Regions from separate parts of the Homo sapiens genome. Here all the other regions are linked to region 4. Evidence: promoter capture Hi-C in 16 types of primary human blood cells and fetal thymus (Javierre and others, 2016). All regions are on one chromosome and are shown on one strand. Each heading gives the region's core, a stretch centred on a gene start or on the middle of the fragment in contact. The rest is flanking DNA. Distances are from core to core; before and after follow the strand shown. Region 1 overlaps MAP3K11 (mitogen-activated protein kinase kinase kinase 11). Region 2 overlaps RELA-DT (RELA divergent transcript). Region 3 holds the start of CNIH2 (cornichon family AMPA receptor auxiliary protein 2). Region 4 holds the start of SART1 (spliceosome associated factor 1, recruiter of U4/U6.U5 tri-snRNP). Region 5 holds the start of SIPA1 (signal-induced proliferation-associated 1).

Evidence for each region. The method cuts DNA at HindIII sites, captures the fragments that hold promoters and counts their contacts. A CHiCAGO score of 5 or more calls a contact.
Region 1: a contact is called between a fragment that was not itself captured here and the fragment with the promoter of SART1 in region 4, in 1 of 17 cell types (erythroblasts). The highest score is 6.9, in erythroblasts.
Region 2: a contact is called between a fragment that was not itself captured here and the fragment with the promoter of SART1 in region 4, in 1 of 17 cell types (erythroblasts). The highest score is 5.5, in erythroblasts.
Region 3: the fragment with the promoter of CNIH2 here is called in contact with the fragment with the promoter of SART1 in region 4 in 1 of 17 cell types (total B cells); the score reaches 5.7 in total B cells.
Region 5: a contact is called between the fragment with the promoter of SIPA1 here and the fragment with the promoter of SART1 in region 4, in 8 of 17 cell types (M1 macrophages, endothelial precursors, erythroblasts and 5 more). The highest score is 11.8, in M1 macrophages.

What each region holds. Positions count from the first base shown.
Region 1 is chr11:65,603,321-65,606,315 of GRCh38, forward strand. It overlaps MAP3K11 (mitogen-activated protein kinase kinase kinase 11), which reads right to left. Exons shown (of 10, transcript NM_002419.4): 7 at 2,626-2,761; 8 at 2,441-2,532. Among named protein-coding and RNA genes, the nearest start is that of KCNK7, 9.0 kb to the left of the region's middle. The HindIII fragment of the contact is 802 bases long and covers 900-1,701 here.
Region 2 is chr11:65,669,495-65,672,247 of GRCh38, forward strand. It overlaps RELA-DT (RELA divergent transcript), which reads left to right. Exons shown (of 4, transcript NR_183625.1): 4 at 1,929-2,224. Among named protein-coding and RNA genes, the nearest start is that of RELA-DT, 7.9 kb to the left of the region's middle. The HindIII fragment of the contact is 9,453 bases long and covers 1-2,753 here.
Region 3 is chr11:66,276,925-66,279,825 of GRCh38, forward strand. It overlaps CNIH2 (cornichon family AMPA receptor auxiliary protein 2), which reads left to right and starts at 1,251. Exons shown (of 6, transcript NM_182553.3): 1 at 1,251-1,613. The coding sequence starts at 1,533. RAB1B (RAB1B, member RAS oncogene family) reads left to right here. Exons shown (of 6, transcript NM_030981.3): 6 at 1-568. It overlaps LOC107984340 (a long non-coding RNA gene), which reads right to left and starts at 1,601. Exons shown (of 2, transcript XR_001748274.1): 1 at 1,571-1,601. RefSeq lists a silencer at 1,027-1,356. The HindIII fragment of the contact is 7,021 bases long and covers 1-2,901 here.
Region 4 is chr11:65,960,199-65,963,270 of GRCh38, forward strand. SART1 (spliceosome associated factor 1, recruiter of U4/U6.U5 tri-snRNP) reads left to right here and starts at 1,536. Exons shown (of 20, transcript NM_005146.5): 1 at 1,536-1,895. The coding sequence starts at 1,583. RefSeq lists an enhancer at 1,394-2,181. The HindIII fragment of the contact is 10,638 bases long and covers 1-3,072 here.
Region 5 is chr11:65,636,851-65,639,891 of GRCh38, forward strand. It overlaps SIPA1 (signal-induced proliferation-associated 1), which reads left to right and starts at 1,251. Exons shown (of 16, transcript NM_006747.4): 1 at 1,251-1,332. PCNX3 (pecanex 3) reads left to right here. Exons shown (of 35, transcript NM_032223.4): 35 at 1-589. The coding sequence ends at 128. RefSeq lists enhancers at 72-862, 1,814-1,883 and a silencer at 1,094-1,463. The HindIII fragment of the contact is 3,649 bases long and covers 1-1,908 here.

The sequences.
Region 1 (2,995 bases), core at 51-2,550, 360 kb before region 4:
GACTATTCTTGACCCAAAGATAGATAGATAGAGGCGAAACTGCTTCCGTGAGGTCTCACAGGGAGGACACAGCCACGTAGTTATTGGCTCTAAGGCAACAAGCTTCACAGGGCAGTTGCTATCAGCGTAGCTGAGTGCACCCTGCCAATGTGCCACTCCTTGCAGCCAGCTCTCCAGGGACCAGAACAGCCCACTGGGGACAGGGTGAGGGTGTGTGTGACTCTCCAGTGGTATGGCTTATGCCGGGGACCATCTCACAGGGTCTGGGACCTCTGTGAAGCCCCATTATTTGATTCTTAGCTGGGTTTCGGGGGGTGGCTGTGAGGTCAATGTCATGTACTTTCATGGACCCAGATGATGCGTGGAGTGTGGGATTGGGCTAGGGGAACCAGATGCTCAGCCAGCCACTGAGCTGGGCAGCTGACATCCTTTCAGGGCAAGTGGCAATCCATTTCTTCATCAGCCAGGAAGGGCACTGGTGTTGAGGCCGACATACTTATCAAGAACAGTAACTACCATGGTTTCCAGTGCTTTCATGAAACCTCAGACATGTGGCCTTCTGGCCACACATCTGCAATTTCATATTGTGGGAGCATTCACTGTATCCCTGGGGGCTGCGGCTCTCTCAGTTTGCAGGGGCTGGACCAAGAAAGAAGGCATTTCAGATTTCTATGGGCACAGATGTCTACAGAAGTTATGATGCCATGAAATACTTCGAGGAGATGAGGAAGGCTGCTATCTCTCAGAATGCAAAGTGATTTTGGAATATGAAGAATTTCTTTGGGTTGAATTACTTAGAAGTTTGTCACTGATCTGAACTATTCATGAATATATGGGCTAATAAGTAGTTTCTCTTCATAAATAATTAACAAATTCTTTGGATAAAAAAACATGGGGCAAGCTTGAGAACGATGGGGCCCAGGCCCCTTGTGCCCCTGCTTCTGGGAGCTGAGGGCCAGAGAGTTCTGTGGAACAGTCAGGACCTGCTTCAGCCTACACACCTGGGTTGACAGGCTCTCAAGTTCTCCTTTGGCCCATCTGGCCTGGTACAATTTAGAGCAAGTGAATTCAAGAAGCCTCCTTGGCCTTCCAGCTCTCAGTTCAGTCCCTGCAGGACAGATGCTGGGGGCAGTGCAGCTGCTGGAGTAGCAAATGGCGGGGCAGATGGAGGCCCAGGGCTCTGCCTCTGTGGTCAGACAGGCAAGAGCAGATCAAATCCCTGCTCTACTGGTTGCCTTACATCAAACCACTTAATCTCTCTGTGCCTCAGTTTTCTCTGTTGTAAAATGCAGGCCAATACTACTACTCCCCTCACAGAACTGCTTGGCACATAGAAGAGAACCAACAAAGGTTAGCTGTTGTTACAACTATCAAGTGTAGCTCAGGGAATGGAAGAGGCGATGGGCTGGGTGGGATGGGAGGAGTGAGTTTAAACGGCTTGCTGAACAGGACTCTTCTGAGAGCAGCTAAGCGGGTCCTACATTCTGGCTGTGAGCAGCAGGTGTGGGGGCTCTGAGGATGGTCCCTAGGTTGGCACAGGGACCCACAGGCAAGGGAGGCCATAACTCTCTGGCCTCACTCAGAGCTGGGCAGTGTTGAGCTGAGTGAGCCCTCCTCCCTGCAATGCTGGAGCCCTGCCTTCTGCCTGACCCTCTGGCTTCCTAAGCAGTCTATACGTGAGAAGCCCTTTCTTCAAGTGAAAGCTTCTGAGCTCACTACGAGAGCATTGGAGCTGAAGCCTCTCTGGGTTCAAATCCTCAGCTGGGGGTTTGAGGTAGGTTACTTCACCTCTCAGAGCCTCAGTTTCCTTATCTGCAAAATGGGGTAATAGTAGCCCCTCTTCATCAATGCTTGGAGGGAATGCCTGGCACAGTAGGGCAGTTACCGTCATGGAGAACAGAAAGGCCCCGAGCTATCCTGGATGTGGTGAGAATGGGTCCTGGATCCTGCCTGCTCGGCCTTCTCATTCTCTTCTTCACCTACAGGCTCCCAGAAGGGGCTCTGAGAAGCACAGTGTGGCTGACACTTGTTTGGCTCCACCCCACACAGGCTGATTCCTTCCCCCATCTGGGTCCAGCTTCCCTTGGGTACCAAATGCCAGGTGGGCTTCCTGTCTTTCTTTTCTCCCTGGAGCCTGCTAAAGGCACAGGGGCTGCCATGGGGCCAGGGAAGAGGCTTCTTGCAGGCCAGGTCTGAGCAAGGGGATGAGACTCTGGGCCCCGAGCCGAGGCCTGGGCTGTATGCCGCTTGATCGTGGGCCTGTAGGTCAGACCTGGGTTCCAGGATCGGCTCTGTCTTGTCTCAGCCTTGGTTTCCTAGTCTCTAGAATGAGAGCAACCAGGGCAGGACTCCTGCTTTGCCTACTAGCCTATTGTGGCCTCCCCAAGGTGCCCACGGAAGGAGCTCAGCCAGATCCTGCCGGGGGAGGAAGGCCACTCACCATTGAGTGCTGGGGGTGTGGAAGGAGATCCTAAGGGGGATGAGTCATCTGAATCCAGGTACCATGTGGCTTCGTCCATGCGGGACCTTCTCCTGGTGATGGGAGGGCAAGGAGGGGTGCTTTAGGAATTTCAGGACTTGGGGAAAGCAAATGATGCTGGGTCTGGGGGGCACTCAGGTACTCACCTCCCATTCTGGGCTTCCCCAGGCTTGGGGGAACTGGGACCCCAAGCCCAGCATGCTCGCCGCTCTCCATTGCTTGAGTCCTCCAGACGTCGGGGGGACTGGCGGCCCCATGCCTGGCCTGGCTCTGCAGGCTCCACTGCAGGGGAAACCGATGAAATCGGAGATAATCTTTATTCTCCCTCCATCATCACAGTCAGGCTTCAGAGATAAACTTTAGAGTATGGGGAGCAGGCTGGGCCCTGTACCATTCCCAGGGTGAGCTTTGGGCAAGATAGATGGGTTTGGGTCTTGGGGCCAACAGTGGGGTGGGGCATCTCATCTAGCCCTTGGGCTGAAGTTTGCTGCTTAGTAATTAGTACAGACACTGACA
Region 2 (2,753 bases), core at 12-2,511, 290 kb before region 4:
CGCCAAGACCATTCACTGGGGGAAAGGACAATCTTTTCAACAAATGGTTTTGGGAAAATTGGGTATCCACATGCAAAAGAATGAAGTTGACCCTTACCTAACACTATATACAAAAATTAACTCAAAATGGTTCAAATGGCTGGACCTGGTGACTCACATCAGTAATTCCCGCACTTTGGGAAGCCAAGGCGGGAAGATCACTTGAGCCCAGGAGTTTGAAACCAGCCTGGTCAACATAGTGAGATCCTATCTCTACAAAAGAAAAAAAAAAAAAAGAAAAAAATTAGCTGGGCATGGTGGTGCATGCCTGTAGTCCCAGCTACTCAGGAGGTTGAGACGGATTGCTTGAGCCCAGGAGTTCGAGTTCACAGCAGTGAGCCATGCCACTGCACTCCAGCCTAAGCGACAGAGTGTGACGCTGTCTCAAAAAAATAAAGAACTGGGGCCGGGCGCGGTGGCTCACGCCTGTAATCCCAGCACTTTGGGAGGCTGAGGCGGGCGGATCACGAGGTCAGGAGATCGAGACCATCCTGGCTAAAACGGTGAAACCCTGTCTCTACTAAAAATACAAAAAAAAATTAGCCGGGCACGGTGGCAGGTGCCTGTAGTCCCAGCTAGTCAGGAGGCTGAGGCAGGAGAATGGCGTGAACCTGGGAGGTGGAGCTTGCAGTGAGCCGAGATCGCGCCACTGTACTCCAGCCTGGGCGACAAAGCGAGACTCTGTCTCAAAAAAAAAAATAAATAAAATAAAGAGCTAAAAAGGGACCAAATACCTAAATGTAGGACCTAAAACTATAAACTCAGAAAAAAACATAGTGCCCCATGTTTTTGATTGCTTATATGTTATTATTTACGTTTTTATTGTTTATATGTTATCATTTATGTTGTATAATATTCATGACATTGAATTTGGCAGTGATTTCTTGGATACAACATAAAAGCACAGACCACAAAAGAAAAAAATAAATTAGGCTTATAAAAATTAAAAACTTTTGTACATCAAATACAATATACTGAAGTAAAAAATCAACCCACAGAATGGTAGGAAATATTTCAAATTACATATCTGATAAGGATTAATACCTAGAACATATAAAGAACTAATAATAGGCCGGGCGCCGTGGCTCACGCCTGTAGTAATCCCAGCACTTTGGGAGGCCGAGGCGGGCGGATCACGAGATCAGGAGATCGAAACCATCCTGGCTAACACGGTGAAACCCCATCTCTACTAGAAATACAAAAAATTAGCCGGTCATGGTGGCGGGCACCTGTAGTCCCAGCTACTCGGGAGGCTGAGGCAGGAGAATGGTGTGAACCCGGGAGGCGGAGCTTGCAGTGAGCCGAGATCGCGCCACTGCACTCCAGCCTGGGCAACAGAACGAGACTCCATCTCAAAACAAAACAAAACAAAAAAACAACAAAAAAAAACACACAAAGAGATACCACTTCACACCCATTAGGATGGCTGTTATCAGAAAAATAAGGTAACAGCTGTTTGCTGAGAAATATGGAGATGTGGAGAACACGTGGAGAAATTGGCACACTTGTGAATTGCTGGTGGGAATGTAAAATGGTGCAGTCGCTCTGGAAAACAGTATGGCGGTTCCTCAAAAGAATTAAACCAGAATTAACACATGATCCAGAAATTTCATAGTACTCAAAACTACTGAAAGCAGGAACTCAAATTGATATCTGTACACCAGTGTTCATAGCGGCATTATTCACAATAGCCAAAAGGCGGAAACAACCCAAATGTCCATTGACGCATGACCAGTGTGATAGTTAATTTCATGTGTCAACTTGACCAGCCCAGGGAATACCCGGATAGCTGGTAGAAAATTATTTCTGGGTATGTCTGTGAGAGTGTTTCTGGAAGAGGTTAGTATTTGAATCAGACTGAGTAAAAGGATCCACCCTATCCAACATAGGTGGCCATCATCGAATCCACTGAGGGCGCAAATAGAACAAAAAGGTGAAGAAAAGGTGAATTCTCTCCTTTCTTGAGCTGGGACATCCAACTTCTCAGACATCAGAGCTCCTGGAGGCCTTCAGACTCCGAGACATTACACCATTGGCTCACCTGGTCCTCAGGTCTTTGGACTTGGAATGAATTACACCATTGGCTTTCCAGGTCTTCCAGCTTGCAGATGGCAGATTGTGGGACTTTTCAGCCTCCATAACTTTGTCATCCAATTCCCATAATAAATCGCCTCTTATATCTGTATCTGTTTGGTTCTGTTCTGGAGATCCCGGATTAATGCAAATGGATTAAAAAAATGCGGCCGGGCACGGTGGCTCATGCCTGTAATCCCAGCACTTTGGGAGGCCGAGGCAGGTGGATCACTTGAGGCCAGGAGTTCAAGACCAGCCTGGCCAACATGGTGAAACCCCACGAAACCCTGTCTCTACTAAAAAAAAAATACAAAATTAGCTGGGTGTGGTGGCGCACGCCTGTAATCCCAGCTACTTGGAGGGCTGAGGCAGGAGGATTGCGCGAACCCAGGAGACAGAGGTTGTAGTGAGCTGAGATCACACCACTGCACTCCAGCTTGGGTGACAGAGTGAGACTCCATCTCAAAAACAAAACAAAACAAAACCCCAAAATGTGGTATATACATGCAAGGGAATATTATTCAGCCTTAAGGAAGGGAATTCTGATACATGCTGTATTGAGGAGCCTTGAAGGCAACATGCTGAGTCAAAGAATCCAGACACAAAAGGACAAATGTTATATGATTCTACTTATGTGAGAT
Region 3 (2,901 bases), core at 1-2,500, 320 kb after region 4:
AGACAGACCCATGCGCTGCCTGCCCACCGTGCCCCTTTGTCCCCATGTCAGGCGGAGGCGGAAGGCCCACCGTGCCAGAGGCTGGGCACCAGCCTTAACCCTCACTCTGCTAGCACCTCCTCCCTTTCCCCAAGGTAGCACATCTGGCTCACTCCCCACTCCGTCTCTGGAGCCCACCAGGGAAGGCCCTCATCCCCTGCCGCTACTTCTCTGGGGAATGTGGGTTCCATCCAGGATTGGGGGCCTCTCTGCTCACCCACTCTGCACCCAGGATCCTAGTCCCCTGCCCTCTGGCACAGCTGCTTCCTGCAAGAAAGCAAGTCTTTGGTCTCCCTGAGAAGCCATGTCCCTCGTGCTGTCTCTTGCCTGTCCCACCTGTGCCCTGCCCTCCAGCTTGTATTTAAGTCCCTGGGCTGCCCCCTTGGGGTGCCCCCCGCTCCCAGGTTCCCCTCTGGTGTCATGTCAGGCATTTTGCAAGGAAAAGCCACTTGGGGAAAGATGGAAAAGGACAAAAAAAATTAATAAATTTCCATTGGCCCTCGGGTGAGCTGAGGGTTTTTGCAAGGAAGTTGTGGTGGCCAAGTGTGGTCTGTGGTCTAAGCCCAGCCTTGGGGTGGGGGGATGGAACTGGAACCCTGGGCTTGGTGGGGTGCACGGGGGTCCTGGCTTGGTTTCTGTGTCCTAAGGCTGCTGGCAAAAGCCCTTGACCCCGTTTCCTGAGGCCAGGAAAGCTGCTTGTGCTTCTGTGGTCTGTCCCCAAGGGCCCAGCACCGTTCTGTCAGGGAAAGAGGCAGGCGGCCATCAGCTCATACCTGGCGTGCCGCCGCCAACTCCCGCGGGGCACACGGCAGAGGTGTGGGGTCGCGCAGCCGCTGAGAGGGCCCCCACTGCACCTGGCCCAACCTCCTTCAGCGCCCCCCAAAACCCCACTGCTCCCATTCAGCCCCTGTCCTGGCGTCATTGTGTGTCCCAGCCAGGTGCTTCTGCCGTCTCCGACAGTGACAAGTGCCTCGCACTTCAGCCTTTGCCCTGAGCGCCCGCCCGAGGGGGCCGAGTGCGGCTGTGCCGGTGGCTGGAGTGCCGAGGGGTGCGGGGTGCCGGGGGCGGCCGCGTCTACGCTGTCCGGAGGGTGAACGGCCGCGGGCTTGTCGGGGCTGGGGGTGGCGCCCGAGCCGGGCGGGCAGACGAGGGGCCCGCGGAGACCCAGCCCCGCCCGAGGCCGCTCGCGCGGCGGCCCCGCCCCCGGCTCCGCCCCGCCGGCTTCGCGGGCTGGAGAGCGAGGGAGCCGCGGGCGAGGGATCGCAGGATGAGCGATCGGGGCCCGGGCAGCCGGCAGCGGACGCGCCCCCCGAGCCCACCGGCCCGCGCCCCGCGCCCCCCACGGCCCCGCGGTCCCGGTCCCGGCCGCATCACCCACGTCCCCCGAGCCCCACGGGCCATGCCCGGCCGGCCCTAAGCGCGGGCCGGGGGGCGTCCCCTTGCGCCCGGGCCCCGCGCTGGCGCCCCCCGGGCCGCCGCCCGGCGCGGGGGCCATGGCGTTCACCTTCGCCGCGTTCTGCTACATGCTCACCCTGGTGCTGTGCGCCTCCCTCATCTTCTTTGTCATCTGGCACGTAAGGCCGGGCTGGGGCTGGGGCTGGGGGCGGGGTGGGGGGCAGGGGCCACGCGGAGCTGGAGGGACCCAGGGCGGGTGGTCTCAGAGCCCAGGGGAAACTTGCTATCCCCCAGCCGTCGGCTTGTCGGCTTCGCCCCCATTAACACCCCCCGTGGTCGGCTTTCTTCCCGGGGCCCCCCTTCCTCCGCCGCCCCCGCCTGTCTGTGTGTATGTCAGTCGGTCTCTGACCCCCTCCTCTGCCCTCGTCCTCTGCTCCCATGCAGCCCGTGAGGTGGGGGGTGGAATTCTGGCATTTTTGTTGCTTTATCTTCTATGTCCCCCCCCACCACCATCCAGCCGCCTCCATTAGTCCGTCGGGCAGTTTGTCTGTCTGCTGCCCCCCCCCCCCCGCCTTTGTGGGTTTTTCCAGCCAGAGTGATGGAGCTGGTTGCTATGGCAACTGCATCTGTTTACAGGACCCACAGATCTCAGAGTCCATTAACCCTTTGCCTTCCCAGCCCCCTCCCTGACCAAGCAGCAGTTGGCTCTCATCAGCCCCCAGAGACCTAGCCCCCACCACCGGCTCACCTTGGGTTTCCCTACCCCTCCTGTTGGGGGCTTCCCAGCCCCCCAGGTTTCCTCTCCATTTTCCAGCTTCCCTCCTCTTCCTGTCCCCCTTCCCCTTTGTCTCTCACATACCCCTTGGTCTGTCCCTCGCCCTGGCCTAGCCTCACACCTGGTTCTTCAAAATGTCCATTCCTCATCCTGCATCCGACCCATCGCTTCCCCCAGGCTCCCTCCTCCTCCCCTCCCGCTCCTCTCCTCCAGGGCCTCCTCTGCCTGGCTCCCGTCCCCTCACTACAGAACTATCAATCAGCCTCCAGCTGGTTGTTGGGGGCCCCTGGCCCCACTTTACTGCCCTCCGTCCCCACCCCCACCCAAACCCCGTGCCTGTTTCTGTAACAGCCTGCCCAGCTCGGCCCTGGCTGGCTCAGCTCAGCATCCTCTGCTCACACCTCCCGCGCACACCTCCCTGATTGTCATTCCCTTTCAGGGGTCCTCTTATCCCTCCCTCAATCCCATTTCCCATAGCCCTTCCCTCCTTCCTCCCGGTGCCTCACCTGCTTCTTTCCCGGGCTCTCCACTTCCTCTCTCCTTTCTCTTCCTGGGACCTGCCGCCTGCTCCATGGTTCCCCCTGCGCTCCCTTTGCCATCCCCTGCCACCTTGCTCTTTGACATCGGGAATCCATAGACTGAACCCCTACTGTGTGAAGAGTGAGCCCCCAAAGGCACCTCAGCACACACCC
Region 4 (3,072 bases), core at 286-2,785:
TGTTGGGTCCTATAAATTCAAGCATGAATAAGATGAAATGACTCCTGCCTCTGAGGACGCCCAGTGAGTGGGAGAGGGGGTGGATCCTTAAAGGGGCGCATACAACATAGCCTAACACATGCTGAGTTGTGCCACACAGGGAGCCACAGACTGAGCAACCACTGGGTGAGGGGAGGGGTTTCAGGAGAGATTGGGATTGTGTGCACTGCGCTTTTTTTTTTTTTTTTTAAGACAGAGTCTCGCTCTGTCACCAGGCCGGAGTGCAATGGTGTGATCTCAACTCACTGCAACCTCTGCCTCCCAGGTTCAAGCGATTCTCCTGCCTCAGCCTCCTGAGTAGCTGGGACTACAGGTGTGCGCCACCACACCCAGCTAATTTTTGTATTTTTAGTAGAGACGGGGTTTTACCATGTAGGCCAGGATGGTCTCGATCTCTTGACCTCGTGATTCGCCTGCCTTGGCCTCCCAAAGTGCTGGGATTACAGGCGTGAGCCACCGCGCCCGGCCTGCACTGGGGTTTTAAGTCCCAATAGTTTTAAGTTAGGGCTGGTCTCCTCAAGAAAAAAACTCATACACACAGATGTGCCACATTTTGCATTCAATTTCAGGGGTTCCAGGGATACACTGACGCCCATGTGGAGCTCCTAAACAATCTTAACAGTTCACGGGGCCAGGTTTTAAAAATCCAATCCAGGGCCAGGCGCAGTGGCGCATGCCTGTAATCTCAGCACTTTGGGAGGCCAAGGCGGGTGTATAGCCTGAGCTCAGGAGTTCGAGACCAGCCTGGCCAACATAGTGACCCCACCCCCTACCCCCGCTCCCCACCAACCATCTACAAAAAAATACAAAAATTAAAGGGGCGTGGTAGCGTACTCTCGTAGTCCCAGCTACTGGGAAGGCTGAGGTGGGAGGATCACTTGAGCCCAGGAGGTCGAGGCTGCAGTGCGCTGTGATCACGCCACTGCACTCCAGCCTGAGCAACAGAGTGAGATCCTATCTCAAGGGAAAAAACAAAACAAAACAAAACAGGGAACGTGGGAAGGAAGCGTTCCCTGACGATACTGGTTATAGCGGGTCTGAAGCTGGGCTGTGGAATTGGAGATCTCGGGAAAACAACACCCGTTGGAGCCACGACCCTAGGAGTCCACTAAGCGAGCGCCCATTGTAGGAGGGAGGTGTCTACGGAAAGACCGTGAGGTAGTGAACACCCCGTTGCCGGTGAAGTGCAAGCGCAGGGAGGCCGGGGAGGAACTTAAAGCCACGAAGACACTGACTTAATGGGCTCTAAGTCCTTCCAGTTCTGGGATCCCACCTCCGGGTTAATTCCGCTTCCCTTGAGGAGCGCATGCGCAATGGGACCACTCGCTCAAAGAACCCACCCGACCCGAGACGGCGCGAATGTGCAGTCGAGCGCTGATCCCGGCCTTCCCATGAGCCTCTGGGGCAGGCTCCAAGGCGAGCGACGGAAGCAGCCGCTCTTAGTTTCCGGCAACACGACAGCGGCTGCCGAGCGACCCGGAAGTATTCCCATTTTGCGTTGTCTGGGCTCGGCGGCAGCCGGGCTCGGAGTGGACGTGCCACTATGGGGTCGTCCAAGAAGCATCGCGGAGAGAAGGAGGCGGCCGGGACGACGGCGGCGGCCGGCACCGGGGGTGCCACCGAGCAGCCGCCGCGGCACCGGGAACACAAAAAACACAAGCACCGGAGTGGCGGCAGTGGCGGTAGCGGTGGCGAACGACGGAAGCGGAGCCGGGAACGTGGGGGCGAGCGCGGGAGCGGGCGGCGCGGGGCCGAAGCTGAGGCCCGGAGCAGCACGCACGGGCGGGAGCGCAGCCAGGCAGAGCCCTCCGAGCGGCGCGTGAAGCGGGAGAAGCGCGATGACGGCTACGAGGCCGGTGAGGAGGCGGGGCCTGCGCAGGGGGCGGGTCGGGCGGGGGTCCCGGAACGCGTGGGTCTGGGTGTGCGCGCAGTGTCAGCGAAGCTCTTCAGGCCAGGAAACCCCCAAGCTGTTTACCAGCTCTATTAAATAGTCTTTCTACGGGATCCCTTGAGCCCAGGAGTTAGAGGCTGCAGTGAGCTGCGGTCCCGCCAGTGTACTCCAGCCTGGGCAACAAAGCGAGACTCTGTCTCAAAAAGAAAAAAGTCTTTCTACGGTTGTTTAGGATTAGAGGTTGACTTTCTCCACTCAGCTGCTTGAGGACAGAGGGCTTCTGTTTTCCTCAGTTGTCTGGTACAATCAGATTCTCAATAAATATGTTGAATGAGTGAATGAAGTAGTGTCAGCATATACAGAGGCAAGAAAAACCTGGTATTGGACGAATCGTGTAGGGCGCATGGTAGAGAAATGAGGGAGTAAGATAGACAGGGATGTGAACACAAAGGACCCTGTACTGTAGTCTCTGTTAAGAACTGTAGATTGTCTTGAGGATAGTAGGGAGCCATGGATGTGAGTTGAGGAGTGAGTTGCTCAGATCCGTATTTTGTAAACATCACTGGATTGAGAATTTAGTCAAAGGTAGTCAGGACTGGAGACCAGGAAACCAGGAGGGCTATAGGCCAGGGGAGGGCTGATGGTGGCCTGCACCAAGGCAGCAGCAGTGGGATTGAGAGAAGTGGACAGGTTGGAGAGGTGTTTTGGAGGAGGAATGAACAGAACTCAGCACTTGTATGAGGGTGGGAAGAAGGAATGGAGGATGACTCCTTGAATTTTGGCTTGAGCAGCCAGATAGGTAGTGGGTGTCATTTCTACTGAAATTGAGGAGTAGGGAAGAGAAGCAGATTTGGAGCGGGGGTGGGGGGAGATAGTTCACTTTTGGGGTTGTCAAGGTTGATGGTAATGGGGAAATCCAGAGTTTGGACTGGATAAAGCCATTGGGAGTCAGTATCTGGGTGGCCAGTGAAGCCCCTGAAAGACTGTGACATGAGAAGAGGGGGTCAGGACTAGAACCTGAGAAATGCCCTTATGTTAGTAGTAGGCAGAGAAAGATGTTACCAAAAAAAGGAGACAGAGTAACCAAAAAGGCAGGAAAACCTTTGTGTCATGGGAACTTTGGGAAGAGAGTATTGTTAGAA
Region 5 (3,041 bases), core at 1-2,500, 320 kb before region 4:
ACATTCCTTGCTTGGACAGCAGTGCCCCTGAGAGTGGCACACCTATGGGTGCCCTGGGCGACTGGCCTGCCCCTATTGAGGAGCGTGAGAGCCCGGCAGCCCAGCCCCTGCTGGAACACCAGTACTGAGCTACCTGGCGCCCACTGGACCACCTCCTAGGATTCAGTAACGGACCTGCTCTGCTGCCTCTCTGCTGGACCACAGAACTGAGTGGCTTTGGCCTACATGTCTGAACCCTGACCTTTGGCTGCCTTGGCCAGAGTACCAAAACTGAGTGACCCAGACCTCTGACCTTGACCCCTGATCTCTCTCATCCCCAGTCCAGGGCCTGGGCTCCCCAGATGGAGGCAGTCAGCCTCCCAGCCAGGCCCTAAGAGCCAAACCATGGGCTGGTCCCACTTGGAGCCTGTGGCCAGGACCACCTCAGCCCCTGGGCCTGCACTGCCTGCAGGTGTGGCCCCCTTGGCCTGGACCTGGGGCCTGAATTGTGGGAAGGGTGGTTTCTTTCTTTCCTTTTTTTTCTTTTCTTTTTTTTTTTTTTTTTTGTGCTTCGGAGACATCAGAATTAATAACACTATTTTTGATTTTGGTTGGCAGTTTCTTTTTCTACCTGGGAATGGGTACATGATAGTACAGGCGGCTAAGTTGGGATGGACAAGCACGCAGAGGGGTGAAGGATGTGGGGCTGAAGTCTAGTAGAGATCAAGGGCAGACCAAGGTGGGGTTCAGGTAGAACCGGGTCCTCTTCACCGCATGGCTGCTCCCTTTTCAAGCCTTTATCTGAAGGGTATTGTCTGCCATTTCCCACCATATGGTCAGACTTCCAGGTCTGGTGGCTCCTACATTTATCAGGCTTGTTCTTGGCCAAAGCCTTTCTCTGCACCTCAGCTGCTCCAGGGCGTAAAGAGATGACACCTATCTAAGGTGTTTTTAGAATAAATGAGAGCGCGCTAGTGGAATGGTTGCCCAGGGCCCAGTGCTTAGCAAGTGCTCCATAAAATAGTGGCAGACTCTTGAGCACCTGCTGGCCGGGAGCTGGACGCTAGGTGGCCTCCGCTAGCCCTCCCGGTTGGTCTGGAAGGCAGGCACAAGTTTCTCAGGAGAGGAAATGGCCTTAGAATGAGCACTGCTCGGTGCTGACCTCCGCCAGGCCTGGAATCCCCGCTGCTGCGCTTCCCGCCGCAGACAGCTCCCGGCCGGCCCCGCCTCCCGGCATGGCCCCGCCTCCCAGCATGGCCCCGCCCCCAGGCGGAGCCGGCGCCGGGAGCGGTAGCGGGAGAGCGGCAGCGGGACCCCAGCGCGGGCGGCGGCGGCTGGGCGGGAGCCCCAGAGGTACTGGCGGGAGCAGGGGACGGGAGGCACTACTGTCGGGCCCGACAGGGGAGAGGTGGCCTAGCCGTGGGCCCGGGTGATGTGTATGGGAGTGGGGTCCTCGCCACGTTCGCCGCCAGCACCCTCCCAACTTCCCTCCGGGCTCCAGCTCAGTCCCGAGTCAATATGTCCAGCCCCCTGTCTCTGACCAGCCGTTCCTACTCTCTCTGTGTGACGGCTTAGCCTGGCCAGCCAGCCGGTGAGTGGAAGCGGCGGCTCCTGACTCCTGGTGGCGGCACTGTGACCCCCTCCCCCTCAACACTGCAAGTGTGTGCGGGGCTCCCCCTTATTCTGAGGCTCCTCTTCTTCTTAGGCGGCCTCCACCCCAGTCCCTGGCCTGGCCTGGGAGGAAACATCTGTCGCGCCCCCTGGCAGCCGAAATGGGGTCATGACCTCCAGATGTGCTGGGAAGTGGCCAGCTCCTCCTCCTGGGGCAGCCAGGCCTTCCGGATCTGTGGGGGCGGGGCCGGCCCTTTCCCCCCACCCCTAGTGACACAGGCCCGGAGGAATGTCCTAGCCTCAATGGACCCTGTGTGAAGCTTCAGGGTGGGGGGCAGAGCCCGAGAACACCCCTCAAGGCAGCGCCAGAGCCTGGCACTGGGCCACAGCAAGAGGCAGCGCACAGGCTGGGTGCACACATGCACAGATCTCACTTCCAAGCGTGCAGAGCTCAGCCCACAAGGAGCGGGGCTTGCACAGACCCCCTCCCTCATGCCCTCCTACTCCTTCACACACTATAGCCCAGGCCCGAGCGCTGAATGTGCCCAGAGCTTGGCTCATGGAGCCAGGGGCTACACCCGTCACACACACACATAGCTAGCGACACTCACCTCATTCTTCTCAGTCTCTCAGCAGCCTTGGGAGGGGACAGAAATAATTAAACCCAATTTTTTTCTTTGTTTTTTTGGAGACAGTCTCACTCTGTCCCGCAGGCTGGAGTTCAGTGGCGCGATCTCGGCTCACTGCAACCTCTGCCTCCCAGGTTTAAGCGATTCTCCTGCCTCAGCCTCCTGAGTGGCTGGGACTACAGGTGCGCACCACCACACCCGGCTAATTTTTATGTTTTTAGTAGAGACAGGGTTTCACCATGTTAGCTAGGCTGGTCTTGAACTCCTGACCTCAGGTGATCCCCCCGCCTTGGCCTCCCAAAGTGCTGGGATTACAGGCCACAGCCACCGCACCCGGCCAGTTAACCCCATTTTAGAGATGAGAAAACAGAGGCTCAAGGTCAGCATGGGAGTTTATTCAGGAGAAATCAAGGTAGAAGCACCTGGGCTGGGGAGCCGACTCTTGCTTGGTTCTGGAGGCCCCAGACGAAGGGTGTGTGGAGCCCCTCCTCCACCCCCCTCCGGCCCAGCCCCGCATGATGTTGCTGGATGCTGCATGAAGACCCACCATTAGATGCCTGTACCCCCAGTGGAGGTTCCCCAGCTCCCTGTCCTCACTGCCTACTCCATCCAGGGCTTGCCTGGGTGTGGCTTCCCTCAAGTTCTCACACCACCATTTGCACCTGCCTCTGGCGTCACGTTTCCGCACTTAGCAGGTCCCTGGGGCTTTGGGTGTCTCAATCTTGCATCCTGTGAGACCTTGAACCTCAGCCCAACACCCACCCCCCAAAACCTACGCACACAGACAGCAGTGGGCAGGTGCAGCCCTGCTTAGGGCCTGGA